Linked DNA regions of Homo sapiens: region 1 is linked to region 2. The links are contacts of gene promoters, found by promoter capture Hi-C in blood cells and fetal thymus (Javierre and others, 2016). All regions are on one chromosome and are shown on one strand. The core of a region is centred on a gene start or on the middle of the fragment in contact, and the rest is flanking DNA. Distances in the headings are between cores, read along the strand shown.

Region 1 (5,279 bases), core at 2,428-4,927, 120 kb before region 2:
GAGCCCTGCTGCCCCCTGACCTCCCCACAGTGATACCAGTGTTGGGCTTCTGACCTTCAGAGGTACAAGAGAATCCGTTGTTTTAAGCCACCAAGCTTTCGGAGGTTTCTTGCAGCAGCCACAGGACACCAAGCCAGGAACCTGTGGCGTCTCCCTATGTCCTGGTCAGGGGGCTTGCTAGGTTGGGTGCATTAGCCTGGATGGGCTTATGGAAGGGAGAGCAGGCTGGGGGCAGACCCTGTGCTCAGTTTTACATCCTGCTCCTGAAATGACTGTGGAGTGTGCACTGGGAGCTGTCCAGTTGGCAAGGGGTGCTGGTCTCTGGAGCTCTTGAGAGAGCTTGAGGAAGGAAGCATTTGCCTCAGGTGCTGGTGAGTGAGGCGGACACTGAGGAGTGCTCTGAGTGTGGGGAGTAAAACAATGTGAACTCCAGGTTGAAACCTGGAGATGCCCTCAAATTGTGATAAATGGAAAATAAAGTATACTGGACATGACTTGGTGCAGAGAGAGCACCAAGCAGGCTGGCTGTGCATCTGAGGGGACAACAAACTAGGGCTAGGGCTGCTGCTAGTGGGAACCACGTGCCTGGACACCAAGGCAGGCTGGGAGATCCCTCAGTCCAAGACCAGCAGGACCACTGTAATTGCTGTTTTCTATTGCCATGGTTTTCATTCGCGAACGCAGGATGGGAAATCTGTAAGGAATCCAGGATGATTTCTGCAAATATTTCCTTCTGGGATGCTTGCATTCAGGCCCCATTAGTAACAGAATGCTGGTTACTCTAGAGTTGATTATCAGCCACAGCAAAAGTCCACTCCCCTATGGAAACCACCCTCGATTCAAGGCCCGAGACTGCAGGATCATAACAAGACCAGTGGAGATGTGCAGGGCAAGTGATTTATTAAAGCAACGTGTTGAAACCTTTACAATTTTTAGTGAAGATCAGGGTGTCGTTGAAAGACTTTGGAAACCAGGTTGAGCATTTTTACATGTCACACACCACATTTTTTCACTATTTCCACCTGAAATCAAAAAAAAGAAAGAAAGAAAGAAAGGTGAGGTCAGTCATGCTGCTGCTGGTGATGATAGGCTAACATCAAAGAGGCCAATGGGATTTTGCCCCAATGGCAATTGGAAAGGCAGAGGCAAGAATTCAGTTTGGGAAACTGAGGCCTAGACCTGGTGGCCTTACAACACCCATTCTGGTGAGAAAGCAGCCTTTCCCCACCAGACCAATAGACCTGGGAAGACCCAGGAGTTAGGCCCAGGGTTTTCATGGAGGAGGAGGGGAGGGGTTGACAGTGCAGCAAGAGGTTGTTGTCTGGGCTGTCCCAGGTCTGTGGAGTCTCCTGATCCCTGTAATGGGGGACCCAGGGCTCTGAAGCCAGGCAGGGCAGGGAGGGCTTCTGGGAAACACACCTTCCAGGAGACTCCAGTCTTCCCATGGGAGAATTCTGCCTAACGGCCAGGGGTCTTATCAGCCCTGACCCTGCAGCTTCTATGGGTATTTGCAGCCAAACCTCAGGACAACAATCCAGAGGCAGCCAGGCTGAGAGGGCCCTGGAATCTCTGATTTCTTGAGAAAGACATAGTGAGAACATCCCACTTGTGTGGCGTTGCAGTAGGTAGAGCAGCGAAAAAGTCTTGGCCCACTGGCTGTGGTCAGGAGAGTGTCATGGATGAGGAGTGGATAGTGGGCCCTGAGGAGCTGCAAGGGGCTCCTGGCTCTGCAGAAGCTGCACAGGAGCCCAGTTCACCAGCACCCTGTCTGTGGGAGGCCCAGCTCTAGGTCCCCTCAAGCCTCCTCTCCCTGTTCAAATCTCCCACACTCCCTGGGACATCCCATAGTGACCGTGTCCACTGCGTGAGGGTAGGTTGACCTCAGGAAAGATCCCAGCAGGGAGGCGGCCGTGCTTGGCCCTTCACCATCCCTGCCTTGGCCCTAGCTCACTCCCCATGTCCTCAGCACACTCTGGGGACACAGCATCCAGGCAGGTGACCTGACAAGAAACATGCAGGAGGCTGTGTGCAGCTGAGTTGAATTCTGCCTCTGCATAAAGGAGAAAGAAATTACCAGGACTTTTTCAATGAGAGTCGTTTCTTAAAAGATATCTGATCGGTGCAGTGCTTCACTTCCAACTTGGCTGCAAGAGCTTCTGGAGGTGGATTAAGTTTGGCAACTTGGAGGTTTACCGCAGCGTCACTTAAGAATAAGAAGACTGTGATCTCAGAAGCAACAGCTGGGCAGACAAGAGCATGGGCTGCAGCACAAAAATAAAAATATTGTTGATGTTAGGAAAGTCGATTTTTCTCTCATGGCTCCCTGAGGTTACACCAGACAGGATCCCCTGGGTTCTATGTTTCTATACCATTATTGTGCTGATGACAATACCAGAAACTCCAGGTGTGACTTTCTCCGGGTCACACAACAAAGGGAAGAGCTTCATATCCTCAGCTAGACTTCTTTTTCTTTTTTTTGAGATAGGTTCACCCAGACTGGAATGCAGTGGCACAATCTCGGCTCACTGCAGCCTGAATGTCTTGGGCTCAAGCGATCCTCCCTCAGCCCCCAAAGTAGCTGAGACTACCAGTGCCTGCCACCATGCCCGCTTTTGTGTGTGTGTGTGTGTGTGTGTGTGTGTGTGTGTGTTTTGTTTTGTTTTTTTTTTTTGTAGAGATGGGGTTTCGCCATGTTGCCCAGGCTGGTGCTGAACTCCTGAGCTCAAGTGATCTGCCCACTGTGGCCTCCCAAAGTGCTAAGATTACAGGAATGAGACACCATGCCTGGCCCACAGCTTGACTCTTGACAACCATAACCTTACTTCATTCTCATAGCCACTCCTGGCAGAAGCTTTAACCACCAGTGATAAGAGGAGGCTCAAGGAGGGTGAGCATTGTGCCCAAGATCAAGGGGTGGGAAGTGTCGAAGCCCAGGTTCACCCCAGACCTCACATTACATCATCTGACACAGATCCCATTCAGAAGTGAAGCTCAGGCAGAAGAATTCCTAACATTTGCCTGAACTGATTTTTCTATAAAACTTCTTAGATACTGGGGATTAGAAGAAATAGCTCTAAGCAGCCAGGCGCAGTAGCTCATGCCTGTTATCCCAGCACTTTAGGAGGCCGAGGCGGGCAGATCATCTGAGGTCGGGAGTTCGAGACCAGCCTGACCAACATGGAGAAACCCCATCTCTACTAAAAATACAAAATTAGCCAGCTGTGGTGGCCCATGCCTGTAATCCCAGCTGCTCAGGAAGGCTGAGGCAGGAGAATCACTTGAACCCCGGAGGCAGAGGTTGCAGTGAGCCAAGATCATGCCACTGCACTCCAGCCTGGGCAACAAGAGCAAAACTTCTCAAAAAAAAAAAAAAAAAAAGGAAGAAGAAAGAAGAAATAGCTCTAACCTTTATGAATCTTATTCAACAAGCACAGAAAAGGGTTTGGAATTTTGTTTGGTTTTGTGCAGACCCCAACCCAAAGCACAAATAGGTGATCTTGTGCTCAGAAGAGGGTGCATCCCAGGGGCTGGTGCTGGACTCATGACTGATGTACTCACCCTGGTAGCAGCAAAGGGCCAGCGAGACCATCAGGAGACACACTGACAGCCTCATGGTGGCTTATTCGGCTGTGAGCTCAGCTTTCACAATGAGTGATTTGGATTCGACTCCAGGAGCCTGTGTAGTCATGGAGGCCAGGGCTATTTGTACCTAGGGAGCCTGGCTGGTCCTACCTACCGGGGCACCTGGTAGGTCATGAGGCCTGGCTCCCAGCCCGCCCTTCCAAGCCAGGGCTGCTGCCGTCCATCAATGTCACCTCCTTAGGAATCTCTGCATCTGAGTGGGGCGGAGCACAAGACAGCAGCCTTGTGAGAACTCTGCTCTGTGCTCCAGGTGAGTGTTCAGGTACATCTGGAAATGTTCCTGGGATCCTCAATTTCCTTATGAGCTTTTGCTGATTAGTTCTTTTTATCTTTGTAGCAGTGCAGGGGCACAGGTGAATTATGGCTTCACAAGGCACAGGAAGCTGGAAGGCTGTGTTCTCTTTATGGGAGAGCAGGGACATAAGGAGACCCTGCTTTGATCCCCCTGCATGTCTGACAACAAGCAGGCTTGTTTCAGTTGCACATTGGGAAAGTCTAATCCTTCCCCTCAGCCCCTTCCATCACCACCATGTTCACTGCATAGGTACTGAAAACATAGTTGAATACATCCCACCTGTAGAAGATATGCTGAGGAAAAACATCTGCTGCACCTGTTCTCTAGCCTGCCTCACTCCCAAACCTGAATCTTGTTTATACGTGCAGTTATATATATGGCCAAGATTCACATTTTCTATCTATAAAAAGCAAGCTTTCTGTGATGTGTAGCCACCCACGTCTTATCTTAGGGCTGATCTGAAGATTAAATAACCTAACTCTTTTTCTCAAGAGCTTTTGGAGTGTTCAGAGCCAATCATACATCAGTGGGGCTCTAGGCTGGGAAGATAATAGAAGGGAAGAGACAGAGGAACAGGGTGGGTGGTCACTTCCCCCTAACCCCTAGGCTCAAGTTTTCCACTTCAAACCTATCTGTGCTGCCTGGGCCAATCCCATTTTTAAGGGAAAGTGAAGGAAGCCCCCAGACAAAGCAATACACACCCGCCTTCCCTCCCATTGCCGTGCCTTCATGTGGTGTGAGTTTAATCACCAGAAATTTTTCTCTTAAATAAACTTACATTTGAGAGGAGTCACAGCCCAGGCCATAGCTTTCCATTCTCAGCTATGTAGTCAAATCACTTGGAGCTTTTAAAACATACTGACCCCACAGGCTTCTCTCTCTGGCGATTTTGATTCAGTAGCATTGGGGTGAATCCCTCCTTTCTGTACTGTTTAAACTGCTCTGGTGTTTCTCACAGACAGCAGGGCTGAGATCCAGCCAGGAAAACCTTTAAGAAGGAAGGGGACCTTACGGGTTTTGTCATCAAAGACACATTGACAGATTTAGTTGAGTCCAAGCTGAGGGCAACAGTGGATCTCACTTTCATCACACAGGATGACGACGGAGTCCCTGAATCAGCCCTGCTGCCACCAAGGAGGGGGAGGGTTGGTGGTGAGGTTTACAGCTATGAGGGTTCAGATCCTCATTTATGGGCTCCTGGACCTTAGGAAAATTATTCAGTTTATGTAACCCCAGTTTTCTCATTTGTCAAAGTAGGCTACTAATGGTGCCTACATCATTGGGTTGATAGATGATCAAATGAGTGTGTTCATGGGTGTGTGTGTGTTTAAAATATACCAAG
Region 2 (5,268 bases), core at 2,176-4,675:
CAGCCATCACAGCTGCCCCGGCCAGACCAGCCACTGCCCACAGAGGGATCCACTAGTGGCGGCACTGGATGGGCTTTAGGTGCCCCCAGTGGTCCAGCTCATCTTCCTTGCCCATTTCAGCTCCATTGGCCACAGCTTTCTTTTGTTTGTTTGTTTGTTTATTTATTTATTTATTTTTGAGATGGAGTTTCGCTCTTGTTGTCCAGGCTGGAGTGCAATGGTGTGATCTCGGCTCACTGCAACCTCCACCTCCTGGGCTCAAGTGATTCTCCTGCCTCAGCCTCCCAAGTAGCTGGGATTACAAGCACCTGCCACCACGCCCGGCTAATTTTTGTATTTTTAGTAGAGAGGGGGTTTCACCATGTTGGCCAGGCTGGTCTCAAACTCTCGACGACCTCAGTTGATCTGCCCTCCTCAGCCTCCCAAAGTGCTGGGGTTACAGGCAGGCTACACCTTTCAACAGTCCCTAAGAGGGGAGGGATGCAGACACCTGAAATCCTCAAGATGGGCTAACCTCAAGAGCCCAGATGATGGGACACAGAAGGAAACTTAAAAGAAAGAAGGCACTTCTGAGATGCTTTATGCAAATACAAGCAAATGCATATGTGGATTCTTTTTGCTTTTTTTTGAGACGGAGTCATGCTCTGTCACCAGGCTGGAGGTGCAGTGGCATGATCTCGGCTCACTGCAACCTCTGCCTCCTGGGCTCAAGTGATTCTCGTGCCTCAGCCTCCCGAGTAGCTGGGATTACAGGCAAGCGCCACCATACCCAGCTTTTTGTATTTTTTTAGTAGAGACGGGGTTTCACTATGTTGGCCAGGATGGTCTCAATCTGACCTTGTGATCCACCCGCCTCAGCCTCCCAAAGTGCTGGGATTACAGGCGTGAGCCACCGCGCCCAGCCTTCTCTTTGTTCTTTTTTGCTCTATTCATGCCTTGTTTTTCCCCCTTTGCAGTCTGCCTTGGAGATCATTTCACCATCAGCTCAGAAGATCTTCTTTCTCTGTTTTCAGCCACACAGCGTTTCATTGTAAGGACACACCATAACGTACTTGACAAGTCTTTGTTGGTTGCTAGTTTAGAACGTGTGCTCTTACCGGTGTTAAGGCGTCTCGGAGTGGGACGGTTCCGGGGTCACCACAGCCTTCAACTGTCACATGGCACAAAGGCCTCATGCATGGATTCATTCCAGGGATTCCTGTTTAGCAAGCGTTGCGTACCTTGGCTTACAGCGGCCTCAGCCCTAAAGGAGGTCAGTCAAGTAAAGGAGTCATACAAGAAAATAAGAATTGCAAAGTTAAAATATTGTATAATGGGCCCTGTAAGCAGAGGGGGAAGAGAGGCCCATGGGGAGAGTCACCACCCATCAGAACCACCTGTCGGGGAAGGCTTCACTCCCTATTTTCACCCCCAACCCTATTTTTCCCAAGTCTTCTCTGTGTCAGGAAATAACACCCCATTCCCCCAGCTGCCCAAGTCAGGGTCAGTTCATCAGGAAAGGGATATCAGACCATGTCACTCCCTGATTAAAACCTTCAAGAGCTTCCCACTCTGAGTGTAAAGGCCTTAGAACGAGGCCTTGTGTGCTCTGGCCCCTGAATGCCCCCTTTGCAGGCACAGCAACCCTTTCGAAGCCCTCAGGCACAATGGGGTCCTTCTTTTTTTTTTTTTTTTCTGAGACGGAGTTTTGCTCTTGTTGCCCAGGCTGGAGTGCAATGGCGTGATCTCAGCTCACCGCAATCTATGACTCCCAGATTCAAGCAATTCTCCTGCCTCAGCCTCCCAAGTAGCTGGGATTACAGGTGCCCACCACCACATCCAGCTAATTTTTGTATTTTTAGTAGAGACGGGGTTTCATCATGTCAGCCAGGCTGGTCTCAAACTCCTGACCTTAGGTGATCCACCTGCCTCAGCCTCCCAAAGTCCTGGGATTACAGGCATGAGCCACCCTGTCTGGCCTTTTATTTGTTTATTTATTTTTATTTATTTATTTATTTTTGAGGAGTTCTTGAAGTGCCACGCAATGCCTCTCCATGTCTATCTACCCCAGTTCCCGACTCCTAGCACCACATCTGGCACATCATAGGTGGTCAGCATTTATTGGATGAATGAATGGATCAATATTTGATTGAGTCTTGAAGTACGAATAGAATTTGGCGAAGTGGACAAGGCAGGAAATGTGTATTCAGGCATGAGGCTTAGCTTGTGCATAGGTAGAAAGGCATGAAAAAACATGGAACATTCTCGAATCCACAAATAGTAAGAGAGGGCTAAGTCGTTGTGTGGGGGAGAGGAGAAATGAAGTTCAAATGGTAGGCAAAGGTCAGTGGGCAAGGGCCTTGTAAATTGCACTTGAATTTTATTCTTTAGGCAAAAGGAAGAGTTTAAGGGTTTCAAGAAGAAGGACACGACCAGTGGGTTTTAGGAAGATCATTCTGATGGCCTTTCAGAGGATGGCTGAGGAGAGCTAGCAGGGAGGCAGGGAGGTCGAGTCAGGGGATTTTGACCAGGCCAGGTTAGGTGCTATGAGGCCCGGGCTTTGGAGAAGAACCAGGAAATGGCAACTGGAGGCAAGAAAGGGGAGAAGGCCAAAGCCTGGGAACCATCAACACTTAAGAACAGTAAAGAATAAACATCTAAAGAGAACAAGAAGGAATGGCCAGAAGAAGGAAAACAGGAAAGAACTGAGGCGTGGGAGCGCAAGAGAGAGAATGGTTCGAGAAGGAAGCAGTCACAGGTGTCAAGGCCATTGGGAGGTCAAGTGAGATAAGGACTGAAGGTCCCACCAATTGGGCCATCAGGAGCACAGGACTTGAGAGCACTTCTGGGTGGGAACAGACCCAGCCTGGGGCAGGGCTCAGGTTTCTGATGGGAATTCTGGAAGGGTCCCTTTTATTCAACATGCTTCAATCCAGGGGCCCCCGAAGTCTGACCACAGCAATGCTCCAAACCATGTGTCTTTCCTGGCTTAAGGTTCAGTCGCCCTCCTCAGAGGGGAGCCTATGAAAGAGCCCAGTGGAGTGTCAGGGTCCTGAGTCCTAGTCCTAGTCCTGTCCCTGCCACTTGTGAGGGAACTTGGGCCTCAGTTTCTCCAGGTGGGCTCCACAATTGCTTCTCTTGATCTGGACTGCCCCAGTGCCCAGGTTCAGTGAGTGACACAGGCAGCTGGGTTTCCACATCCTCTGACTTGGGTTCCCTTCACTGCCTCCAGGCAGGGCTCGGCCCTCCACCCCCAAGTGGCCCATTGTGTGAGCTCAGTTTCAGTGGGGACAGAAACTGGGTTGAGAAAAGGGAATATTTACCTATCCCACCAAGCCAATGCCAAGTAAATAGTGCAGTATCTTATGTAGAGCCCTTGCCCTGCCCTTCCCCATCTGGGTGCTGCTGCCTAGAGCATATAAAAGGCACCTTGCTGGGCATGTCTCATACTAGCCCACCAGACTCAGAGACGGAACCAGAGACGGGCCAGAGCATCCCCCTCCTCCACCATGAAACTCGCTGTCACCCTCACCCTGGTCACACTGGCTCTCTGCTGCAGCTCCGGTGAGTGCTCAGAGACCCTTCCCTCCCTCCTGGACTTAGGAACTCTCAGGACCCCCCAGTTCTGCTCAGAAGAAGGAGTGAGCTGCCCATTCCTGCTCTGGAGCTGCTGGGAGGACCTGGGCATGCTGAGTCTCAGAAAACTGGGTCTGGTGAGCAAGCTCATCTTGGAAACTTGGAGAGAGCCCCAGGCTGTAAGGAAGCCTAAAAAGGGTCCCATCTTCTATATCCAACAACCCTCAGAATCCCAGGGAATGGAATAGCCTGGAGGGAGGAGTGGAGAATACCCCATAAAGATGAGTACATCCAGCATAGGAATAATGAGGCCCTCATCCCAGATCTGGACAGACTCCAAGATGCTGAGACCTTGGTGCAGCCTCCAAGTCTGGGGTCTCCACTCCATGCTGGCAGCTGAAGTCACTGGAAGGGGAGCTGCAGGGACTCGTGACCCCAAAAGAAACCCAACCCAAGACAAGGTCTCTCATTCTGGGCACAGAGGAATATTCCAGAAAGAGAGCTTCCCTTTGGGGAACTGCCAACCCAGAGTGAAGTTTTCTAAACATTTCCGTCCTCTGCAAAAGGGATTAGGAGTCTCTGAGTAGTTGCTGCTGTCACTAAAAGGAAAAGAACTGTGGGGGGAAGAGGGGCAGAAAGAGAGACGGAGAGAGGGGGAGAAAGGAAGGAAAGAAGGATCACAGCTCTCTCCAAGATCCCCCGTCTTTGGGGAACTGGGTTATCTAACTCTGTTTTTCACTCTGCGTCAGCCTCTTCCATTCTCATCTGAAAATGCTGTTGTTATTTTTTAATAAACAAACTCCAATTAATTCACTTGGAAAGCTTCACAACACCCATGGAGATAAGTTTTATGACCCTGGGGAGTTAGAAAACCCAAACCAAGAAGCAGTAGGAACAACTATTTTGCAGAGAGGTTTATTTGTTTTTCAGAGAAAATGACATCATTTTGGACTGAAATGTGTATTAATTAGAAGATCTCAGTGCTGTCTGCGTACAGAGGTGGGTGGCTGAGCAAGATAGGACTGCAACATGTTAAGGGGTGGGTCAGAGATGCATTTGTCTATTTGTGTGCACATGCATACAATATTTAACACTTACTTCACACAATGTGCCAATCACTGTCACCCTTTCACATAATATCTCTTTTCATTCTTTTTTTTTTTTTTTTTTGAGACAGAGTCTCGCTCTGTTGCCAGGCTGGAGTGCAGTGGCGCGATCTCAGCTCACTGCAACCTCCGCCTCCCGGGTTCAAGCGATTCTCCTGCCTCAGCCTCCCAAGTAGGTGGGATTACAGGCACGCACCACTGCACCCAGCTAATTTTTGTATTTTTAGTAGAGACAGGGTTTCACCATGTTGGCCAGGATGGTCTCCATCTCTTGACCTCGTGATCCACCCACCTAGGCCTCCCAAAGTGCTGGGATTAGGCGTGAGCCACCATGCCTGGCCTCTCTTTTTATTCTTACAACAACCCTATGAAGTAGGGATATTGGGCCAGGCACGGTGGCTCACGCCTGTAATCCCAGCAATTTGGGAGGCCGAGGTGGGTAGATCACTTGAGGTCAGGAGTTCAGGACCAACCTGGCCAACATGGTGAAACCTTGTCTCTATTAAAAATACAAAAATTAGCCAGGCATGGTGGCGCATGCCTGTAGTCCCAGCTACTTGGGAGGCCGAGGCAGGAGAATCACTTGAACCTGGGAGGCAGAGGTTGC

Evidence for each region. The method cuts DNA at HindIII sites, captures the fragments that hold promoters and counts their contacts. A CHiCAGO score of 5 or more calls a contact.
Region 1: a contact is called between the fragment with the promoter of SCGB1D4 here and the fragment with the promoter of SCGB1A1 in region 2, in 2 of 17 cell types (neutrophils and monocytes). The highest score is 15.4, in neutrophils.

Annotation. Positions count from the first base shown.
Region 1 is chr11:62,295,398-62,300,676 of GRCh38, forward strand. It overlaps SCGB1D4 (secretoglobin family 1D member 4), which reads right to left and starts at 3,678. Exons shown (of 3, transcript NM_206998.2): 1 at 3,559-3,678; 2 at 2,075-2,261; 3 at 884-1,022. The coding sequence starts at 3,613. The coding sequence ends at 1,013. The HindIII fragment of the contact is 1,500 bases long and covers 2,850-4,349 here.
Region 2 is chr11:62,415,608-62,420,875 of GRCh38, forward strand. SCGB1A1 (secretoglobin family 1A member 1) reads left to right here and starts at 3,426. Exons shown (of 3, transcript NM_003357.5): 1 at 3,426-3,543. The coding sequence starts at 3,489. LOC102723765 (a long non-coding RNA gene) reads right to left here. Exons shown (of 4, transcript XR_007062699.1): 2 at 1,098-1,243. RefSeq lists a silencer at 2,450-2,744. The HindIII fragment of the contact is 29,364 bases long and covers 1-4,375 here.